Linked DNA regions of Homo sapiens: all the other regions are linked to region 1. The links are contacts of gene promoters, found by promoter capture Hi-C in blood cells and fetal thymus (Javierre and others, 2016). All regions are on one chromosome and are shown on one strand. Each heading gives the region's core, a stretch centred on a gene start or on the middle of the fragment in contact. The rest is flanking DNA. Distances are from core to core; before and after follow the strand shown.

Region 1 (2,700 bases), core at 26-2,525:
TTTCCTATCTTTTGCCCATTTTCTAATTGAATTGTTTAGGTTTTTACTGTTGAATTGTACACATTCTAGTCTTTTGTTGGATATGTGATTTGCAAATATTTTCTCCCGGACTGTAGTTTGTCTTTTCATCCAGTTAACAGAGTTGCAGAGCAAAAGGTTTTAATTTTGATGTGGTTCAATTTATCAGTTTCTCCTTTTATGAATTGTGCTTTTGGTCTGAATTCTAAGATCTCTTTGCCTAGCTGTATGTTCTGAAGATTCTCTCCTGTTTTTCTTTTCTGAAAATTTTATAGCATTATGTTTTATATTTAAGTCTGTGATCCATTTTGAATTTATTTGTGGATAAGATATGAGTTTAGGTCAAAATGGTGGTCATGCTTCTCCTCCCCTTCCTCCCCGTCTCCCTTCCTCACCTCCTCCCTTTCTTCCTGCTCCTCTTCCTGCTCCTCTTCCTCCTCTTCTTCCTCCTCCCCCTTCCCGCTTCTCCCCCTTCCTTCTTTCTCCCACCTCCTCCTTCCTCCTCCTCCTTACTTTCTTCTTCTTTCTTTTCTTTCTTCTTCACTTGCCCTACATAGTGATTTTAAGAGCTATAGTGCCTTCTCAGCCTGAATCCAAAGTGATTCCTGTAGTAAAGGTAACTGCCGGTTCATGAACAACCTGCTCAATGTTAACCTCTTCTTGTTCCTAAAATGTAGAGTCAGGGGAGCCCCTGAAACTGAGAATACAAACCAAAACTGTTCTGGAAGAGCAGCACAGTTTTTTCAACTCAGAAATGTAAAATTGTCTTGCTTATCATGACCTCTTCTGAAAAGTATTCTAAAAATGAAACAAAAAACGTATCCTAAAATGCTGAAATGTGATCTTGGGAGCATAGGGACAGTGGCACAAGGATGAAATCAGTGATGCTCTTAAGACAGTAAGACAACATGATTTGTAACTAGGAAATGAGAGAGATGGAGAGAGGAGAATGGAGAGAAGAGGGGGTAGGAGCAGGGAGAGAGAGAAAGAGACAGAGAGAGAAACACTGACTGACAAACCTGTAGTTTAGCTCTTACAATGCAGTGGAAGCCAGAAATGGTCAAGCTATTAAAAGCAAAAGGCAAACCAAAGAGAAAAGAACCCCCTTCAGCCTATAATCAGAAAAGAGCCATCCAAAGTTATACATCTTTTCAAATGCCTTCTGACTTAACTGTGGAATTACCATGTGGAACTAGCAACAGAACTTACTTGAAAGCTGGTTTCTGACAATGTAGAGCAGAGTTCTCTGGAGCAGCGTACTTAAGGGCAGTCCAAGCAAGATCTCTGGAGAGAAGGATAAAATGTCAGGCCAAGGGTGAGGCCAAACTGATGCAATCTCAGTTTTCTCTAAACTAAATTATACCACCTTACATAAATCTCAACTGGTGTTCTGAGGAAGTCAAAAGGAAGATTTACCCTGATGCTGTGCCTGCTGCCACAATTACATATCTGAAACCCTAAAAACTGCTTTTTAGCCTGCTTCCCCCTTCCACCTAGGAAAAACTAGGAACACCTAGTTTTTCCTCCTGAGTAGTTAAATAGCCAATGTTTTCTTTGTGTGCTATCTTATCATGTGGTTTCATAATCGTTGTGTGACTGTGTTTGATAAATAGTCCTTTGCCAAACCTGTTTTGTTGACGTTTCGCTCTTTAACATCAAAATAGAGTTTAAAATACCCTATTTTAATAATTTTGGATTGAAATTAGTGATTTGAGGGTCACCCAGTCTTTCCTTTCTTATAATTTATCTTGAAATATGCCTGTGTAACTCTAAATAGAGGGGTGGATTAATACTGCTACTAGATAGAGTAATTCTGGATAAGACCTGATGAATTTTTTGGATTTTCTGACCCTGGTCCAACTGGTTTTCAGGTGCTTCAGGATAGTTTTATAACAGTTGTTAAATCTAGATTGAATGATTTGTGAAACTTTTTCACAAATGGTTTTGCAAATAATTTATATATGCAAAATTAGTATATGTCTATATTAATTTCTTGATCCCTGACAGGTCTTGAAAACCAAATGAAAAACTGAATTACTAAAGCAAATTATACTTTCTGTACTATTTGTACTGTGTACAATTTATGCTATCCTCTGGGGTGACTATCATGTGTCATTTGTTACACCCCTGCTGACTCTTCCTTCCCCTTGTAGTTAGAATGCAAAATTTTCTTTAGTATTGCCATACAGGGCTGTCTTCTTACACACTTGCTTGACATTATTTGGCTTTTGTGATTTCCGAGTAGGTCCTTGTATGCCATTGGTTGAAGATTCTTTGAAAGCATTTTTTCAGGATCAAGCGTTGATTGAAGATATCCAAAATACATCTGTAGTTGAACCAAATGGTGTTTTGTGGGAGGTTTACTTTTCCCCTCTGATAAGGTGTGAGAGCCTGGGAGTAAACAGTGAGTAATATAGACGAAGACACAGACTGGGTGTTCATGTAGGTCCCTTGTTGGCTCCCACCTCCCCTATTCCCTGGTTGTCATGAAAAGCAGAACTGCTGCTCCCACCTCCGCTTTCCTCTTAACCCAGCCTTTCAGAGCAGCAGTAGGAGCCAGCACCACCTCTGTCATCATTCTCAGTGACAAAGGATGCAAAGTGTAGAACATTTCTTAGCTCCCATCTCCAGCCTCTGCCCTGGCAATTCTTCACCCTTGAACCTCTGACCCACAAGCAGAAC
Region 2 (2,700 bases), core at 17-2,516, 550 kb before region 1:
CAATCTATAGCTGCCTGTTGAGTGTGAAGTGGCTAACTTGTGAAAACTCCCTGCCACCTTCTTTTTTTACCATATTCAGCACACCGCATTGTATTAGATAAAGTTATGGTACTTTAAACAAATATCTCCGTTCACCAACCAATTTCTGCACACCATAGTCTCAGCCTTATAATCTGAAAACACAATATTAGAATTGGATAGAAAAACAATCAAGAAAACTTGTGGTAATATCTTAAAGCTTCCAACACATTTTAGCTATTTATTTTATTCCATTCATCAAAATTCTGATTTCATTAGTTTGGTAAGAATCTTATGCACATCATCTCTATTCATCTAAAAGCTTTTCATTATTCACTCTGACCTAGAAGTGATATTCATAATGGCCATGGCATAAGTAGCATTTTTTATTTTTGTCATAAAATGTGTGTGAATAACTCAGATTAGATAAATCAAACACTTGTTGGTAGGTGGGCAGTCTTACCTAGTTTAGGCAGTGAGCCTACTCTTAGCTTCAGGAGCATCACTAAGAGCTGCCTGGTCCTCCCTCACCATGGGTGTGCAAGATCATCCTGATGGGACTGATTGCTGAGCTTCTCAATTACATCTAGTGAGGCTCAGTTCACAAGCAGTAGTTTAAAGTGTTTCACAAGTCCTAAAAAGTAATTGCACACAATGGACATAACCTTTTACTAACAAACCAAAATGACTTCAGGTCAACACCATGTGTGTATGAAAGGATACCTCCACAGAAAATGTACAGTTGACCCTTGAACAACAGGAGTTTGAACTGTGAGGGTCCACTTATGTGCAGATTTTCTTCTGCCTCTGGCACCCCTTGAAACAGTGATACCAACCTCTCCCCTTCTGCAGCCTACTCAACATGAAGACAATGAGGATAAAGACCTTTATCATCATCTGCTTCCACTTAATGAATAGTACATATATTATCTCTGTTGTTTTTCTTTTAACATTTTGTTTCCAGAGCTTACTTTATTGTAAGAATACCACATGTAATGCATATAACATAAAAATATGTGTTAATTGGCCATTTATGTTATCAACAAGGCTTATGGTCAACAGTAGCTGTTGGTAGTTAGGTTTAGGGGGTGTCCAAAGTTAGAATCAGATTTTTGTTTTATTTATTTATTTATTTTTTTGAGACTGAGTCTCACCCTGTTGCCCAGGTTGGAGTGCAGTGGTGCAATCTTGGCTCACTGCAACCTCTGCCTCCTGGGTTCAAGCAATTCTCTGCCTCAGCCTCCCGAGTAGCTGGGATTACAGGCACCTACCACCACGCCTGGCTAATTTTTGTATTTTTAGTAGAGACAGGATTTTACCATCTTGGCCAGGCTGGTCTTGAACTCCTGACCTTGTGATCCACCTGCCCTGGCCTCCCAAAGTGTTGGGATTACAGGCGTGAGCCACAACTCCCAACCTAGAATCGGATTTTTGACTGTGCAGGCCTAATCCCCGAGTGGCTCAGGCGTCAATTCTTTCAATTATCAAAAATTCTGATGCAATTGTGATTACAAAACAAACTAGCTTTTAAAAAAAGTAAGCCATTCTGAAATTTAACGATTTACCACATTTTAAACACAGTTGCTATGATGAACATATTTGTAAATTTACAGTGCTACTTTATCTCACAACTCACATCACATAAAGATTACAACTATTGGCTGGGCATGGTGGCTCATGCCTGTAATCCCAGAACTTTGGGAGGCCAAGGTGGGTGGATCAACTGAGGTCAGGAGTTCGAGACCAGCCTGGCCAACACGGTGAAACCCCGTCTTTACTAAAAATGCAAAAATTAGCTGTGCTTGATGGCACATCCCTGTAATCCCAGCTACTTGGGAGGCTGAGGTGGGAGAATCTCTCGAACCAGGGAGGCAGAGGCTGCAGTGAGCCGAGATCTTGCCACTGCCTTCCAGCCTGGGTGACAGAGAGATGAGACCCTGTCTCAAAAAAAGATTACAACTATTGGCAGGTCATTTTAGCAATGCAATCTGCATATCTTACTCTAAATTACACATTTTGTTAGAAATCTGTTCTTGAACCATAGCAAACAGAACAAAGTGCATGCTTTAGGATGTGTCTTCATGATATGCCATGCCGTTCACAGTGGCCAGTGTAGAGGGAACCCAGGGATCTACACGGCTCTTCTGTCACTGTTCATTGTTCCAAAATTACGTGTAAGCTTTAAAGTTGTTCAACATCAACCCCATCGTCCTCCTCTCACTTAGTATTCAATTTGAGTGGAAGTAGTGTGATAAAGGAAGATGGTGGTAAGGTTGAAAAGTGACTTAATATGAAATGTGAAACAACTTCTTCAAACCTAGCATTCAAATGTAATTTCAAACTATAACAATATTTGGCAAAATCTTATGGCTACTTTTGATAACTTCTAAGCATGGTAAAATTCTTTATGCTACATTTCTGCTTGACTTTCAGTTCACACCAGAGGGTATATTCATGTACACACACATTATATATATAATATATATAATACATATCCATCCATTATATATATATATAAATTAAAGCAAACCAAAAATGACAAAATCATGTCTTTCACAGAAATCATCCCATTTCACCTTTGAATGTGAAGACTGACAAATTGCTTAAATGAAAATGCTGAGTACAGAGATGCTTTTTTTTACAAAGCGCTTCATCAGTCATTTCCCCCAGAGCATGTATCAC
Region 3 (2,700 bases), core at 7-2,506, 620 kb before region 1:
TGACAAAGTTGGCACACAATTGCAGCAATTTGATTGGTTGTATAGGCTGTGTTTCTTTTTGGGAAGGATACATATAACATTTGTTACAGAGGGTATAGTGGTTATGGGTTTTCTGTCAACTGGCCTAAGCAAAGCAGGACAAGAAAGGGGAAGTTAATCTGTAACAAGGGTCATTAAGATGGCAGCAGGTTTTTGTCCCTGTTGTTGTTTGAGTCTCTCTAGTCACTGTACAGAACAAGAACAATAAGAAACAAGTTGTTCTATAATCTGAGAAACAGAAGTCACAACCCTGTGTGGCTCAGATCACAATCACATCTCTCTCAAGGCTTAAAGTGTCTTCAGGGTTCCAACAGGTTTTAAATCATATTTATTTTCACACTGGGTACATTGTGGACCGCTAAGTCCTTTGAGAGTAAGAAGCATGTCTTCTGCATTTTGTGTCACCCATCCATGAGAGAAAGGTTTTATATAAAATGAGTAAATTTTTGAGTGGTATAAGATTAAGTAAATTTTAGATCTATGGAAAAGGCACTTACGTGAAATTCTCTGATGATACTGAACAAATTGCATTGTTGTCTTGGTCCAGTCAACAGGCATCTTTTTGATCCTTTGAGGTACCAAGCAGGTTTTACCCTTAGGGCATCTGACCTAGCTGTTACCTCTCCCTGGAAATCTCTTTTATTCTGGAATGTCACATAGCAACTCCTTCTTAAGGCCAAGTGCACTGACCCATCTTAGAGAGGCTTTCTGCAACTTCTCAGACCATTGTTGGTTTTGCATGGTGACAAAGCCTGTCTCCAGTCACTCCATCACAGTGCCCTGTTCGCGCTATCACAGCCAGGCCAGTTGTTGCCCACTTGCTCATCATATGCATCTCTTAAGCTTCAGGAGAGCAGAGGCCCTGTCTGCTCTGATAATCATTGTATCTCCAGGACCTAGAATAGTGCTGAGCTCACAGTAATGCCCCTTACATCATACTATATTATTTAAAATCAGTGGGTTTTGACATTGGCTGCCCATCAGTGTCACCAGTGGGGATTAACAAAACACAGATGTGCAAGGTTAACCTCAAAGATTCTAATTCAGTAGGACTTGAGTGATGCCCTTAAATTTGGCTCTAAATGTATTAATCATCAAAGACTCAGGAAAACAAGGAAAGATAAGCTTTCTGTAGCTTCCAAAGTTGTAGCTGTTTTTAAAATTGTTTATATTTTCTTTTAAACTCTCATCCCATATCCTTAAGCCTTGTGACTGCCACAGAGAGAAAATAAGATCAAGCATGAGCTTACATTAGCCACAGAAACACCTGGGGCAGTTCCAAAGTTTTAATTACTGCTTCATTAATGTAAAAGCTTAACTATAGTTGTAATGTATAAACAACTTTTGGCATGTGCCCTGCAAATGCAAAAAAGTCTAAATAATTATTGTCGTGGCTCCTGTCTCAACGCAAGACCAATGATCGCCAAATTATTTTTAAGACATGGACTACATTAAAAAGTTATTGAATTATGTTTTCTGTTAGCTTATATAAAGCACATGACATTTAATAACTTGCAAAGAAATGCTTATTTTATCTGTAATATATACTTTGGTGTTTATCAGATTCTGTTCAAACTGTGTAGCAAATTTCCTTGAAAATAGAACTTTCTTTTTTCCTCACATCCCTGTATTTGATATCAGACTATTCTTAGACTCTCCACCTCACTCATCACCATGGTGTCTACGGACTTATAAGTATGACATGCTGTCACCCTTATTTATACATGAGGTATGGAGGTGAGCGTGAATAAGAATCTTGCTCAGAGCCAATTAGTTGCAGATCCAGCATTGGAATTCCTCTCCCATAGTATCAAAAGTGTAGTCATATTCCTAGATCATTAGGCAGGAAGAAAAAGAAAATAAAAGAAAAACTACTCAGAGACATCTGGCCGGATCTGTGCCTTTCATCAGAATAATCATGTCCTGAATCTCCCACTGGGGTTGTCAGAAAAGATTTTTCCCAAGCTTTTCTATACCACGGAGAGCTACATTTAATTTATAACCTGAAAGTATCCCCTAAAACAGACTCATAATCATGCTTGCTGAAATTTTAGCCCAGCCTTCTTGCTTGCTGAGAAAAGAGCTGGCTGTCCTTTCTCTTTGAATAAGCCTCCTTGTATGAACAGTCTCTAGAGATGTCCCTTTTCCAGATGAAAATCTGTTTTATGTGTTATCATGTTGACCTTCCAATCCCTTGAATGATTTTACGTTTTCATCTTGGTAGGTCTGTTCTCTCTATAATCTAATTTAATAGTTCTAATCTGCACATATCCACCACATATCTAGTTCAATATCAAGCAGGTATCCAGTGAGTTCACAAACTCAGAAGGGCAAGAAATATAACTTTTCTTATTTTTCGGCAACTCATTTTCACTTCTATTTTGAGTTCTTTTTCTACCAGGAGAATTTTAGGGAAATGTTTGCCCCCAGATCAAGAGACACTCTCCTCTTTCTGCTTGCTAGGCCCAAAAGAACAGACTCTTTTGAAAAGTGCAGAGTTTAGAACTCTAAGAGGAAGAACAGTCAGAAGGATTTTTTTTTAAGCAAAGTCTATTTTTCACCCAAGGTGGAATATAATATAAAGTACTAATCAGTTATACAAACATGTTATTTATAAAATAACAGCCCACTAAGCGTCAGAGGTGAGGGGTTGCCCCATCC
Region 4 (2,700 bases), core at 13-2,512, 650 kb before region 1:
AACAAAAGTCTGTTCAGATATGTTATTCCACTTGGTGTTCATCCATATTCAGTCATCTCAGGACTTTAAAATAAATAAAAGTCACAGGCTCTGCATGCTTCTTTCCAGAAAGTAGAATCTGTATTCTTTAGATGCTGGCTGAAAGGGCTAATTTCAATGAGTACCCCAAAAAAGAAAGCATTTTATTGCCTCATGAACATTATAATTACTTGTTTACACGAATATGTTTTATTCATTTAACCATCTCCCAACCATACTAGCAGAATAACTACTTTAAGAAAATACCTAGTAAAACTGTTGAAAAAAATGAGCCATCAATGGATTTGTCCTTAAGCGACTCTAGCCATCTCTGTGTTGAATTTTCACGGTTTGAAGCAGCAACTGCAGAAAAGAGGGCATCTGCCTCAGTCATTGATCAGCTGGCATGCTCTCCATGCAGGCAGAGGTTCACCATTACTTCTGTTGCGAAATGTCCCCAACAACACCGTAAAGCCAGTCACTTCTTCAATTTACTGAGTTAAGCTGATCATGGTGGTGAGTGCTTATAGTCCCAGCTAATCAAGGTGCTGAGGCAGTGGGACCACTTGAGCTCCAGAGTTCAAACCCAGGCTAAGCAAAACCCCTGTCTCTTAAAAAAAAGATATATATATATATTTTAACTGTATATATATAGTTTTGTATACATATATAAAACTAAAAGAAAAAAGTAAAACAAGAAAAAATTTACTGAGTTACTACACAGTTAAGAACACATAAAAGGTGACCTCAAAATGTGGATATTCACATCTGTCATCCTACTTTTCATTGAATATTTAAGCAATAAAGTGTAATGATTTGAAATATATGCATTAAATTGAGAAGCATTGTTAATGTACCAGGGAAGGCAGGAGAATATTTTAATGAATTTGAAATGGCTAAAAGGAAGCTTTGGGTCCTCAAGGAAAGATGAATTTTAAGCAATTTCTCACAGTGTGAATCGTTTATAAGTGATGCATTTTGATGCAGAGGAAGTGAAGTTCCCAGAATAAAACCACAAATCTCCAAGAATACCCTTAGTCACCAACATATTGCTTCTTTCTCAAAAGGCAAAAATCTAGCACTTTGCTGTAGCCAGATCATGTACCACACATGAAAAATGCATGTATATGTTACACCTCATCTCCAAACTTACCTATGGTTATTTGTATCTTATACAAATTACAGTTTCCCTGACATATATCTAAAATATGGAAAACTCTTCAACTCCTTGGAAATACATTTTTCTTATAATTAGACATTTCTTTTGTCCATTAATAGCAAGAGCGTCTTGTCAAGGATCATGGAAGCAGAACTGATTCAAGATTAAAAAGATCCGTAAAAGTCACATGAGATGTAATTCTTAGAACCAGTATAGAGTTTTATCACCAGCTGCTAGGAAAAGTCAGTTCAAATATGGAATGGTTCAAATATGTTATTCTACTTGGTGTTCGTCCATACCCAGTAATCTCAGTATTTTAAAATAAATAAGTCATAGGATCTGCGTGCTTGTTTCCAGAAAGTAGGATTTGTATCCTTTAGATGTTGGCTGAAAGGACTAATTTCAATGAGTACCCAAAAAAAGAAAGCTTTTTATTGCCTCATGAGTATTATAATTACTTGTTTACATGGATATGTTTTATTCATTTAACCATCTCCCAAGCATATTCACGGAAGCAGAACTGATTCATTCAAAAGAAAAAGCCAATTTGGGATGGGGGTAGTGGGAGGAGATCTCTTCAGATCTCTCAGTTTTAAAGTCTCTGATGGTTGGATATTTGTAGTTTTTCACTGATTTTTCTCTCTGCATAAAGAGCTAATAGCTCATTGTCTATAAATATTTTCCAACATTTTGTTTTCCAAAATGGACTCATTTCTACATAAAGACGTCATGGAAAGATGGTTTTTCTTCCTGAAGGGTTAGGTCAGCCCTGGGAAGAAGTATAGACCTTGGCTCCTGTTATTCCTCTTTAGATATCCCAGGGTTCCAACAGGAAGTTACAAGATACCTGCACTACCTGTAAAGTTTATTTAAAATGATTGGAAGGCTCTCATAAGCATTGGAGGGGAAGAAAAACTTTTTTTCTACCCTCTTAGGTGAAGTGCCTAGGAGCCTGTGAATTAAACTTACAGCAGACAGACTAGCAGGAGAAAAAGCTTACAAAGTTATTTATTTTAAATTTTGCTTGCACAAGGGTGTCATAGAAAGAAATGAATACCCCAAGGAGTGATGAGATTTGATTTTCTGTATCATTTTACTACAGGAAAGGGAGGTGGAGAAAAGGCAATATTGAGAGAGCAAATGACTTCTTTAAAAAAAAAAAAAAAAGATAAATGGGTCCTTAGGAGAATAGATGGGAGATATGACAGTTTGTGACAATGTCTAGAAGAGAAGAAAGAGTTGCTCCCAGTGGGAGGAATTTGTGACAGCTGAGTTCTTTTGGGAACCTCTGCTTTTAGTCAGATAAAGGATTTCGGGAACTCAAATGCCTTCAGCTCAAAATAACTCTTATGGGCTGGGTAGGGTGGCTCATGCCTGTAATTCCAGCACTTTTGGAGGCCGAGGCAGGAGGACTGCTTGAACCCAGGAGCTCAAGACCAGCCCAGGCAACATAGCAAGACCTCGTCTCTACTAAAAATAATAATTTTTAAAAATTAGCCAGGCGTGGTAGTGCATGCCTGTAG

Evidence for each region. Contacts are between HindIII fragments. The CHiCAGO score rates a contact against its expected background, and 5 or more counts as called.
Region 2: a contact is called between a fragment that was not itself captured here and the fragment with the promoter of NCOA7-AS1 in region 1, in 7 of 17 cell types (fetal thymus, M1 macrophages, naive CD8 T cells and 4 more). The highest score is 5.8, in fetal thymus.
Region 3: a contact is called between a fragment that was not itself captured here and the fragment with the promoter of NCOA7-AS1 in region 1, in 4 of 17 cell types (M1 macrophages, M2 macrophages, M0 macrophages and 1 more). The highest score is 13.8, in M1 macrophages.
Region 4: a contact is called between a fragment that was not itself captured here and the fragment with the promoter of NCOA7-AS1 in region 1, in 3 of 17 cell types (M2 macrophages, M0 macrophages and M1 macrophages). The highest score is 7.2, in M2 macrophages.

The regions. Positions count from the first base shown.
Region 1 is chr6:125,817,583-125,820,282 of GRCh38, forward strand. It overlaps NCOA7-AS1 (NCOA7 antisense RNA 1), which reads right to left and starts at 1,276. Exons shown (of 3, transcript NR_126386.1): 1 at 1,228-1,276. The region is part of intron 2 of NCOA7 (nuclear receptor coactivator 7); the gene reads left to right. RefSeq lists an enhancer at 501-1,002. The HindIII fragment of the contact is 4,548 bases long and covers 1-2,700 here.
Region 2 is chr6:125,264,701-125,267,400 of GRCh38, forward strand. No RefSeq gene overlaps it. Among named protein-coding and RNA genes, the nearest start is that of HDDC2, 36 kb to the right of the region's middle. The HindIII fragment of the contact is 1,857 bases long and covers 339-2,195 here.
Region 3 is chr6:125,195,042-125,197,741 of GRCh38, forward strand. The region is part of intron 1 of TPD52L1 (TPD52 like 1); the gene reads left to right. All of the region lies in intron 1 of LOC100126584 (a long non-coding RNA gene), which reads right to left. Among named protein-coding and RNA genes, the nearest start is that of TPD52L1, 43 kb to the left of the region's middle. The HindIII fragment of the contact is 188 bases long and covers 1,163-1,350 here.
Region 4 is chr6:125,164,446-125,167,145 of GRCh38, forward strand. The region is part of intron 1 of TPD52L1 (TPD52 like 1); the gene reads left to right. Among named protein-coding and RNA genes, the nearest start is that of TPD52L1, 12 kb to the left of the region's middle. The HindIII fragment of the contact is 679 bases long and covers 924-1,602 here.